Regions from separate parts of the Homo sapiens genome. Here region 2 is linked to region 1. Evidence: promoter capture Hi-C in human tissues and cell types (Jung and others, 2019). All regions are on one chromosome and are shown on one strand. The core of a region is centred on a gene start or on the middle of the fragment in contact, and the rest is flanking DNA. Distances in the headings are between cores, read along the strand shown. Region 1 holds the start of HERC1 (HECT and RLD domain containing E3 ubiquitin protein ligase family member 1). Region 2 overlaps HERC1 (HECT and RLD domain containing E3 ubiquitin protein ligase family member 1).

The links. The method cuts DNA at HindIII sites, captures the fragments that hold promoters and counts their contacts. A contact is called where the count stands out against the background at its distance.
Region 2: a fragment that was not itself captured here is called in contact with the fragment with the promoter of HERC1 in region 1 in 1 of the 25 tissues and cell types used here (bladder).

Annotation. Positions count from the first base shown.
Region 1 is chr15:63,831,356-63,837,475 of GRCh38, forward strand. It overlaps HERC1 (HECT and RLD domain containing E3 ubiquitin protein ligase family member 1), which reads right to left and starts at 2,593. Exons shown (of 78, transcript NM_003922.4): 1 at 2,472-2,593. RefSeq lists enhancers at 1,749-2,614, 2,615-3,478, 2,652-2,781 and a silencer at 1,982-2,411. The HindIII fragment of the contact is 22,604 bases long and covers 1-6,120 here.
Region 2 is chr15:63,696,459-63,702,578 of GRCh38, forward strand. It overlaps HERC1 (HECT and RLD domain containing E3 ubiquitin protein ligase family member 1), which reads right to left. Exons shown (of 78, transcript NM_003922.4): 26 at 2,270-2,538. Among named protein-coding and RNA genes, the nearest start is that of USP3-AS1, 99 kb to the left of the region's middle. The HindIII fragment of the contact is 3,729 bases long and covers 1,133-4,861 here.

The sequences.
Region 1 (6,120 bases), core at 1,343-3,842:
CTCGGCCTCCCCAAGGGCTGAGATTACAGGCGTGAGCTACTGTAATCTGGCCAAAAGTTCTATTTACAATTTTTAAAAATAGCTTCAACAGATTATAGTAAGTTTGTTACTTGCTATTATATAGTTATCCAACTATAACATTCAAGTTTTGTTTCACAAGTTTCTTTTTATCCTAACACAACCTTCTCACTCTCCAAGCCACGATGTCATCATTATCATCATTTTAAGATCTGAAAATCTGAATTTTAAAAATTTTAAAAGGTCAGCTCCTTCAATATACCCAGCCCCCTTTTTTTTCTATTTCAAATATTAGGGAGTATTCAGTATGACTTTTTTGGGGGAAAACATGCTTGGAACGTTGGAATTGTTATTACTATTTATTATTTGCACCCTCTACTAACCCAATCCAGTCCAATCACCAACACATTCTCCAAAATTTCTTTAAATTGAGATTTTCAAGAGATGTTTATATTAATAAGCAGATTAAGTGACGCATTTACATTTGCTTTCTCTTCCATGCAACATCAGGGTGCCTGCATTGGAAATGGAATACATGACCAGCAAATGAATGGATGTGTCACATGCAAACAGCATGACTGGAAATTTAAGAAGCAAAATGATAAGAACCTTAGGGAACGCAAAATTCATAAAAGTTTAGAATTACAAGAGGCCTTAATAGGCCATTTAATCCATTCCAATAACAACAACCCCAGATGACAATCTATCCTATTTTTAAAAGGCTCCAGATTTCCAACCTCCCTAGATATCTCATTCTGCCATACAACCTTGTCATGTGATTTGGGGGAAATATTATGACTGTTCTTTGCCCTTCCTAATGCTATCTTTTCTCAAATAATATAGCAATACATCTTAACTCACTTCCAAGATATATAAATGTGTATAGGTGCAGAATACGTGTGTGTGTGTGTGTGTCTCTATACATATATACGTACATTTATGCATAAGACAGGCACCTAGGACATTCAATTTTGCTTGTATAAACGCAGGCTATGGAAACACATATATCAAAGAGACATACTCATCCCACACTAATCACAACAGGCACTATGAAACAATGTCACAGAACAATTTTGGTCTAAAAATATCCAGTAGAAATCAATTTCATAAAACCTGAGGTAAATAGGTTTCTTCCCACTATGAATAATCATAGTTTCTTTCCCTTCTACAAATACTGCCCCATTTTGAGCAACCACCACTAACAGAATTGTAAAAATATAATATATACATAGGTACTAGACCCAAACAGACAATGTTTTAACGTTTGATTTTTCAAACCACTTAGCTAACAATCATTTTGGAAAAGGGCCCAGTGAAAAAGATAGTGATGGCAGAGTTCAGCCAGTGATAATGAACTAGCAGCCAGTTTTAATCAAGCAGGCCAGAGAACTGATTCAAATAAAATAAATCATTTTTGGAACAAATATAGAATGAGGAAGTCCCAAGCAAGGATAAAAAAAAATGTGTCTGTTAGGAAATACAATAAAATGTTAACCATGAAATGCCACCTCTGGAGATGGAATTACAAAGATGGGTTAGTTTGTTCAGATTTGTTATTCCCATCATTTAATTATCTCTATATTCTAAGTATTATAGACATTTCTTAAACTAAGACAAATCTGTCCCTGTGTTTCACAGCTCTCTAAGATAACATGTCTTTTACATAACCTCCTGGGAGAGGTGGTACAAGCTCCTGTCCTCCTCGTGTCTCCCAGTAACCTGCCACCCATCACAGAACAGATTTCACCATGTTCCCCGGGGTAGCTCCTGTCATCACCATCATCATCCTCATCTCACGCTTAAGACTAAACAATGCGCCCCGCCTCGCCTCCCGGTTGCAAAGGCTTTATAATTTGTTGTTTTATTGGGGCGGGAGATTTGGAGAAAGGTTTAGCAGATGATGAGCTGCCCTCACCCAAAGGCAGAGGAGAGGAGGAAGACACGTCGTCCCAGCCTCCACCCCGCTAAAGGCGGCCGGCGCCTGGGGACACCGGGGTCGCGGCACTCCCCGGACCCTGAGAGGGAGTCGGCCGCCGCCCGCGGACCGAGCCCCAGCCGGGGCAGAGGAGCTGGTCAGCAGATAAAGGAATGAAGCAGAAAGAGACGCGACCACAGCGGGGCCGGGGCACAGACGTTGTAAGCCGCTGGAGGGGCGGGTCTCTCGGCCCTCTCCGCGGGCGCCTCGGCTTCTACGCTGCTCCGAGGCGCCCGGGCGGCAGGAGGCCTCTAGAGCCGGGGACCCGGGGGATCCGCGGCGCGCCAGGAGGGCTCCCCCAGCTCGCCTGCCGCCCACCCGGGACCCCAGCAGCCCCGCTCGGCTGCAGTCCCGAAACGGCCCCGGCCGGCCCTGCGCGGCCGGCAAAGCACACACGCGCGCGCGCACACACACACACACACACACACACACACACACACACAGGACCAGGAGGACGGTAGATGATGCGTTACCGTACGTGGCTCTGGAGCTGGCGGGGTGGGGCGCGGCTCCGGCGACCCGAGCCCGGCTCCGCAGAGGCTGCGGCGGTCGCGTCCTTTATTTTTGCTGCAGCAGCAGCGACTTGTCAAAGGGAAAGACGTAAGAGGCGGCGGCAGCAGCGGCGGCGTCAGGCGAGTCTCACGAGATTTGGGCGGAACTCTCGCGCAGCCGGGAGCCCTCGCCCCGCCCAACAGGCCCAGCGCGGGAGGTGAAAGGGGAACCGAGAGGAAGGCGGCTGAGGTGGAGTTGGGGGTTGAGCGAAAAGGGGAAAGGGATTTGGGAGCGAGGGGAGCCAAGCTAGGTGCTGGGGACACTTTGCTACCGCGCGGCCCTCACCCTTCAGCCGTCGCGGAATCCGGGCAGCCCCGACCGCCTGCGGGGACCTGACTCCACAGATGAAGCACAATTGGGGGCGTTTCACAAAGGGTGGTGAGGAGTGGGGGGCCATGCAGTGCGCCCCCTTTTCCTCGTGGTGGGCAGGGAAGACCCCGCCGCCAGGCGAAGGGACACGTGTTACGGCCGGCGGCAGGGCCAGGGCCTCACCCCTTTATCTCCGCCTCGCACCCGGCGCCCCACGCTCTTTATCTCTCATCGCAGCGGCCCCGGCCCTCCGGCCGGCTAAGTTCAATCACATAAAAGCGTTTCACTTGACCTACTCTTCCACCTTGTTCATGTCTTTGCGCCTTATGGGACTGCCAGAACCCTGCAGATGCCAGGGCCTGGCTCCTCGGTTTTCTTTTCTGCTTGGGAACACAGTAGTGTCCTTTGGGTGACTTACATCCTTGATCATGACCTCGACCTCCACGTGAAACCCCATGAGGGGAAGGACACAGACTGGCTCAGTCCTCACCATATCTCCAGCGCCTAACATAGGTCCAAGTGGACATTAAATTGTTGAGTGAATACCCCATCTCCATCTTCCTCCTTCTGTACCTGGTTTTACTCCTTTCCAGCCACCTTCATGGTGTCTTTCCTTCCAGATATTCTAACGAGCATCAATTAAACTGACCGATGACTTGGGGACAAAAAATAGAGTTGGCCTCTGCGTTCCAGAAGTTTGCAATCCAATTGGAGGCGTAGGAGAAGCACACAAACATACAAGCCATGAATGTGTCACTAATGTAAGAAATTACGGTATAGACAGACGAGGGAGTGCTTTCCCATGGTTAAATTAGATACATGTTTGTGTGTCACATGAGGCAGTTTAGTCCAAGAGTTAGGAGCCATGTGCTTCACTGTCAGACACTGGTGGGAATTCTGGAATCCCACTTACCCCAGGTGTGTGACCTTGGGCAAGTTGCTTGACCTCTCTGAACCTCAGTTCCTTATGTGTCAATTTATAATGCCAGTTCTTGTTATCACAAGGTTCCTCTGAGGAGTAAAATATATGTAAAGCTCACATACGGCACATATTAAGTACTCATTAAATGATGGGTCTTAGGTGTGTAGCTTTTAAGTTTCTATGTATAAAATGTGTATTTCTGGTAAATGATGTAAGGGAGTAGCTACATGAGGAGTGATGTCATTGTTGCTAGTGCTTTATGATCTGGGTATTGTGTGTGAAGCATACTCAAAAACAACAAGCAAAAGCTCCTCCTTTTAACTTGTTGATGTCATCTACGTCACTCACAAATATGATATTCTGTCTTTCTTGAATTTGTAAAATTGTACTGGTTTTGCCCACTTTTTCTTTTTCTTTTTTTTGAGATGGAGTTTTGCTCTTGTTGCCCAGGCTAGAGTGCAATGGCACCATCTTGGCTCACTGCAACCTCCGCCTCCCAGGTTTAAGCGATTCTCCTGCCTCAGCCTCCCAAGTAGGTGGGATTACAGGTGTGTGCCACCATGCCTGGCTAATTTTTGTATTTTTAGTAGAGATGGGGTTCCACCATATTGGCCAGGCTGGTCTCGAACTCCTGACCTTGTGATCCGACCGCCTTGGCCTCCCAAAGTGCTGGGATTACAGGGGTGAGCCACCGTGCCCAGCCTGGTTTTGCCCATTCTATTTCAAGAAAAGGACTGCTTACTTTAAAGACCAATCAAGAGACTCCCTCTTTTACCATCTCCTTAGCTTCCACCCTCAGAGCTGTGTGTAAAAGAGAATTGAATACAACTGTGTTCAGTTGCATACAATTAGCAAATACTGTTAGTGTCAGCAAGTGAGCCCTGACTACTAGCCACCCTCACCTTGACCACACCACTCTTTCCCAAAACACTGTTTTTTTCTTTCTTTCTTTTTTCTTTTTGAGGTGGAGTCTCACTCTGCTGCTTAGGCTAGAGTGCAGTGGCGTGATCTTGGCTCACTTCAACCTCTGTCTCCCGGGTTCAAGCGATCCTCCTGCCTCAGTCTTCCTAGTAGCTGGGATTACAGGTGTGCTGCACCATGCCCGGCTAATTTTTTTATATTTTAGTAGAGACAGGGTTTCACCATGTTGCCCAGGCTGCTCTCGAACTCCTGACCTCAAATGATCTGCCTGCCTCGGCCTCCCAAAGTGCTGGGATTACAGGCGTGAGCCACCGCACCATGCTTAAAACACTGTTTCATACTCAAATCAGCATATCCTGGAACCTTGTTGTCAGCATTAACCTCCCAACTCTACCAGTTCATTTTATTCAGATTTCCCTAAAGAAAAATGTTGGAGATGGGAAGAGTGGATGGAGGGATCTCAGAGCCACAGCCAAGTCCTAAGCATCACAAGCCCTTGGTCTGATAGCCCTCTGAGCAGCATACCCTGGCCATACCAGTCAGCCACATCTTCCTCCCCTCACGTATGTCACCCCCACTTCATGCCTCATACTTCACAGCACCACACCACAGCTGGGAGGTCCCAGGCAAAGGAACTGGAGAATCAACAGTAGAATATATATTTTTCATCTTTCATCTGCATTTAGGAAATGTGCAACTCCTAGATAAAAATCAGGGCTAAGTTTGAAGTGAAGAAATCCAGCAGAGCAGTAAAGTGTGGAGGCAGAGCAGCAGGGGTAAACAGACACTGGGAGTAAGTTTGTGTTGCCCTTGGCACTTGGCTCAGGAAATATATCACTCTGAAAACAGAAAAGAGCTCCAGAGCAGGAATCCATGGACATGAGTTCTGGTAGCTCCAGAAATTGCAGCCTAGTTGCCCTGCCATTACACAGTCTTTCTGAGCCTAGTCTCACATCTGTAAATAGGGGTAATAATAAAACCCACTGCCTGCCGGAGAGTATCATGGGAGTCAAATAACATAAGAAAGTACTTTGTAACCATATTTGTAGCACTATTTAAATGTGAGGTATGATTATTCATTCATTCATTTAACAGGTCTTTGTGGAATGCCTATCATAAGTCAGGCACTGTGCAAGGCACTAAATATACTATTGAACAAGCTTAAACACCTGCCCTCAAGGAGCTTATGGTCTAATGGGAGGAGAGAGGGAAGAAAATAGATCGATATAATATCACATGAGGAGAGTGCAAGTGATAAAGGTATAGTGGGAGGGAGCAAGCAAACCAGAAGAAGTGCAAAAAGAGCTGAAAGCCTTTTTGGAGGAGGTTTAGAAAACATATATAATGGGCCAGGCACGGTGGCTCACGCCTGTAATCCCAGCAATTTGAGAGGCTGAGGTGGGCAGATTACCTGAGGTCAGGA
Region 2 (6,120 bases), core at 1,747-4,246, 130 kb before region 1:
TAAGATAAACATTTATTTTATTATTATTACTTTTTTTGAAGATTTTCTAAAAACTCTATAAGCACACATCAGAATAAAAAAGGTTAGAGTACAATAGGAAAAGTAGTAGCTTTGGATGTAGGAGACATGGTTTCAAGGACAGACTCTTTTATCTTACTGTGTGGCCTTGGGAAAGTCACTTAACTTACTGAATTTGTTTCCTCGTATATAAAATAAGACTAATAATACCTTATCTAATCTATTCACACAGCTATTGTGAAGCTCACAAGGAGATATATGTGAAGGTTTCAAAACTATAAGGTAGTACTGCTACTGCTTTCTTTATTAATAAGTTTATATAGAATGAATACTCTTTAGCCCAGGAATGAGAAATACTTCTGAACTATTTCTCTGTGGTTTTCTTGAACTTCTGCCCCTATCTTCCCTAGGAAGACACTCCCCATCACTGTAGTTGATCAGCTTATCCTTCTTCTTTAAAAAAAAAAAAAAAAAATTATTTTGAAATAATTTTAGATATACAGAAAAGTTGTAAAGATGGTACAGAGAGTTCTTGTATACTCTTCCTTGAGCTTCCCCTAATCTTAACATCTTACATAACCATGGTACATTTATGAAAACTAAGACATTAACATTGGTACAATACTATCAACTAAACCTAAAGTAAAATAGTATTAATTAAAAGACTATTTGGATTTTAGTTTTCCATAATGTTCATTTCCTTTTCCAGGATTTAATCCTAGATACCACATTGCATTTAGTTGCCATGACTTTTTAGTTTCTCCTACCCTGTGACAGATTCTGTCTTTCCTTCTTTTTCATGACGACACTTCGGAAGAGCTGTTCATATATTTTGTAGATGTCCCTAAATTTTGGGTTGTCTGATTTTTTTCTCATGACTACAGTGGAATTATGGATTTGGGGGAAGAATACCACATAAAGTGTTCTCATTACACTATATCGACATGACTTAATACAGGTGATGTTAATCTTGATTTTTTTTTTTTTTTTTTTTTGAGATGGAGTTTCACTCTTGTTGCCCAGGCTGGAGTGCAATGGCGCGATCTCGGCTCACTGCAACCTCTGCCTCCTGGGTTCAAGTGATTCTCCCGCCTCAGCCTCCCAAGTAGCTGGGATTACAGGCATCCACCACCACGCCCAGTTAATTTTTGTATTTTTAGTAGAGATGGGGTTTCACCACGCTGGTGAGGCTGGTTTCAAACTCCTGATCTCAGGTGATCCACCCACCTTGGCCTCCCAAAGTGCTGGGATTACAGGAGTGAGCCACCGCGCCCGGCCAATCTTAATCATTTAGTTAAGGCAATACCTGCCAGGTTTCTGCAATGTGAAGTTACAATTTTATCTCCTTCCTATAGCCTATTTGTTAGAAGCAAGCCACTAAGTCCAGCTCACTCTCAAGGAGAGAAGAATTAATCTCCACTTCCTGCAGGGAGAACTATGGAAGAATTGTGGACATGTTAAAACCACAATAATTAATAAATATTTGGGGGAAGATACTTTAAGGCTATGCAAACATCTTATGTCTCTTTCAAGTTTTGCTCACTCATTTTAGCATTCAACAGTGGGTCTTGATTGCAGCAATTATTTCTGTGAGGTTCTAACCTGAAGCAGGTGTCTAATTTAAACTGAGACAAATGGGTCAAAAATGAAGGCTCAGGGCCAGGAGTGGTGGTTCACACCTGTAATCTCAGCACTTTGGGAGGCCGAGGCAAGTGGATCACCTGAGGTCAGAAGCTCGAGACCAGCCTGGCCAACATGGTGAAACTTTGTCTCTCCTAATAATACAAAAAAATTAGCCAAGCATGGTGGCGCATGCCTATAATCTCTGCTACTCTGGAGGCTGAGGCAGGAGAATCACTTGAACCCAGGAGGCAGAGGTTCCAGTGAGTCAAGATCTCACCATTGCACTACAGCCTGGGCAACGAGAGCGAAACTCCGTCTCCAAAAAAAAAAAAAAAAAAGGCTCTGATGACCTATTGTCATCAACTAGTCTCACCCTAGTTTGTAGGAGACATGTGAAGACTTCTGAGTATATTGTTCTGAGAGATGACAATTTTAAAATGCACTTTTGTCTAGTTCAAACAAAATAATGTGCTGTTCTAGTGAAGAATGTTATGTTTAAAAGCTCAGGTACAGGAAAGGGGAAGGCAAGGAATAGAAGAAAAGGAAAGGTTTTCCCTAGAACTATACATTCAATGGTTCAGTTTTAAGTTTCCAGAGCTCTCATAAGGAGTAAATATCAAAGACTTACTTCTGCCCTTAACTGCTGCTGTTCCATTGCAATGATGGAGGCCTGGGGACTTGTAGACATACTTTCCTCTGGCTCTTTAAAACCTGGGGCATTCCCCACATCTCCACTCACAAAGCTTACAACATTTTCAATCAAAGTGTGAACTCCCAAAGACTTGGTAAGATCAAAATCTGACTCAAAGGAATAGGAGGAGTTGCATAACCAGTCTCTGCTATGTTTCAGGCGAGCCCAAGAGTCACTCAGGGATTCCAATTGACTGTGCATAGGACCTATATACAAACAGAATAAACATATATCAATGGCAATCAAGTAGAGCATACATTCTGAAACTAGATAAGGCTGAGTGCTGCTACCATAACCAACTGGTGAAAAATGGATACTCATGTTTGAATACGCGCATGCATTAAGTGAATCTGAGCAAAATGCTTTGGTAAAAACAACAAACAAACAAAAATTAGAGCAATGTAAGAAAATAAAGGGAAAGCCCTGTTTGATGTACCAGTGTCTCTGTAAGCGCTTTAGCAACACGCTGCCACAAGAAAAAGAAAGGCAGAAGCTGTTCTCAAAATGCTTAGCTTAAAATGCTCTGCAGTATTAAACCAGATCATCATTTATGAACAAAAAGGAACTAGGCACTTAAGACACTGCTAGTAAGACCTACTCAAAACAGAAAGATTTCATCTAATTTAACATTATCATTACAAAGGGCAAGTTAAGACTGAACAAAGTGTCTACATATCTGCAATGAAACATTACCAAAAAATGAATATAGAAGGGCAAGTAAACTTACACAAAAAGCAGACACAAACATCACCCTTTGGGTTTCATTAATATAAGGAACATTCTCACTGACTGTGTCATGTGCATATTTACTGCAGGTTGTGAAACTCCTATATAGAGGAAGCAAAGTTTCACAGACAAGAATATGAGATTTACTGTAAAATGATACCTATATAAAATTATCAAGTGGCATCAAAATAGTTGCTAAATATAATACCATTAGATTTGCCAGTGGGTATTTTTTAAGCTAAAATCTTTACATTAGACAGCAAAATGTTAACATGTTTGAACATAACAGCAACTGTCCAAGTCATTTGTCAATATTAGCTTTAAATAAATATATAAATGTCCAATTCTTACAAATCTTTAATTTAACTGGTCTCAGATACATAAATTTGATTAACTACAATCCTTTCGTCATGACATACTCTCATCATTGGTCCATGCATGGCCCAATTTTGAAATCACATATTTATAATAAATATCTGTGAACACAAGAACTAGAAAACTAACAGTAACTTCTATCTATTTGCTCCTCCTCCAGCCCATCTCTTGCTACCTAAAGTTTTATTATCCTGAGGCCTGGGTTTATTATTTCCTTGTTTTTATTGTTTTAATGTATTCCTAAGATGAATAATGGTTTTAGTTGTCGTTGACTTTTAAAAAAGAGTATCATTTTATATCACCTTTTTGGACACACTCTTTCATTCAATATAATATTGCTAATATTCATCCACATTACTAAGTGTAACCATGGTTCATTTATTTGATTGCTGTATAACATCCTATTATGTGAATATACTACATTTCTCAATTAGGGAAGTATCTTAAGGTACCCAATTAAATATGCATAAAAATTATATCAGTTATGTAACTAGATAGAAAAGTTTGGGAAGATAACTACTTAAACACTAATGCCCACAGAGAAAACAAACTAACAACAATATTCAATGTAGAATCTTATTTTTGAATTACTATACTGGTGTCAATTAAACCCTAGGATTTCAAAATTCGTAACACGGAGCTAATATTACAAAGTAACTATGAAATAATTTATATGTATCCTAGTAAAATAATGTAGAATGGCAAAGAATATATGGTTTATCTGCCTTCTGTGTTTTAGAAAGAATTATTAAGATTTAAAAAGGCTTAATTTTCACCACTGCACTCCAGCCTGGGTGACAGGGCGAGACCCTGCCTCAAAAAAAAAAAAAAAAAAAAAAGCTTAATTTTCATTCTTGCTGAACATGAAAAATAACAACCTACCTAAAAATTTCCCCAAATTGTAGACCTGAATATTCTTTCATGTGACACAGAAAAAACTGAAAATTCAAAGAATAATATCATAGATGCATAATGTATTAAGTTAAAAATATTTAAAGAATAAAGTAGAGGCTAATGTAAAAAATATATACATTCTTTTTTCATTTCCTTAAAGCACCTCAAATTCAGAATCTGTATTTAGCCTTAACTTACAAATGATAGATTCTGGCTCCTCACATTGAACTTGTTTTTTGGGGGGGTGTTTTTTTTTAAATATTAAAATTTTAGAATAAAAGGTTCTTCTAGTTACTAATACTTATAAATTACTTTTCAAAATGAATATAAAATGCGCAAGGAACTGATATTAGAACTGCAGAAGAAAAAGAGACCTTAAAGATTATTTAGTCCAATTTTCACAAATGAGGAAACAGAGGCACAAAAAAATTGGTTTGTCACATAATGACATTAATTCCTTAATTTTATGGGAGGTAGTCTTACATATTCATTATTAACCAACTCACAAATCACTGATGGAAATTTCAATTGCCTGCCTATATAAAGGTTCAATTATGAATCTACCAATACTGAACTGTCTTCATATAAACCAAAATATTCTATGGAATGGCTGACGAAGCCCAAAATTAAATCTTCTGCAATTTAAAGCAGGGGTTGGCAAACTTTTTCTGTAAAGGGCCAGACAGTAAATATTTTAGGCTTTGCAGACCATAAGGTCTCTGTGACAACTACACAACTCTGCTGTTGTAGTATGAAAGCAACCACTTAAATAAATGAGTGTGGCTGTGTTCCAATAAAACCTGATAAAAATAGATGCCAGGTCAGTCTTGGCCTCCTAGCTGTAGTCTGCTGAGCCCTAACGGATGAAATTAACCCAAATGTAACTTTGTATAAATAAAATATTAAGAACAGGAAACACACTATGTGGAAGCATCAGGATAAATAATTTCCATCAAAATATTTAGTTTGACATCAAAAAGACTTAAAACACAAAAATTTATAATATGGAAATGGGAGAGGAAAGAACTTTAATTTTTTTTTTAAGTATAACAATCTGATAACTTTGGTTTGCTCTGTACTATCTGAATACAGGAAATATTATATCTGAAAAGGGCATTAAAAGCTTCTACATAACAATTGAGACTAAGCCCAATTCTTAATACTAATTCAGAATCACCTACTATATAAAGAAAATACAAAATCCAACAAAAAATTTTTGAGATTGTTTACTTGTCCTTACAAGTTTGGTTTTTAAATGGAATTTTCAAAATGAACATGGCAGAGCTGCAATACATACTTTATAAACCATAAAATATGTAGGCAAGCTAAAAGGGGAAAAAAATTAAACATGCCATCATGTACTTGCTTGAAGCTCTTCTTTTTTCTGGGGCTCAACTGGCCAAAAAGGAGTAAATACACTACCACACGAGAATCAGAAAACAAAAGGAGAAATTTGATACAGGAGAGAAACATTTACATTCGCTTTTCTTTATATCATCTAATTTGAAATGCACAGACAAAATAGCATTTCACCCATACATGTTATACCATGAAACACACATGTTGATAAATGTTTCCAGTATTATTTTAGCAATAAAACCCTATCAAAATATTTAAAGATTAGGGGCGATAATCAAACCACACAGTATTTTAACTAATAAGATTTCTGATGCTGCTTAAGTTGCTGTTTTGATATCCCACAACTTTTCACTGTATCATCTTCAGCTTAAATATGAAAACTAAAATCAAGTATCTGCAAAAACGTATTGTCTTTCTGTAAACAATCGTACAAC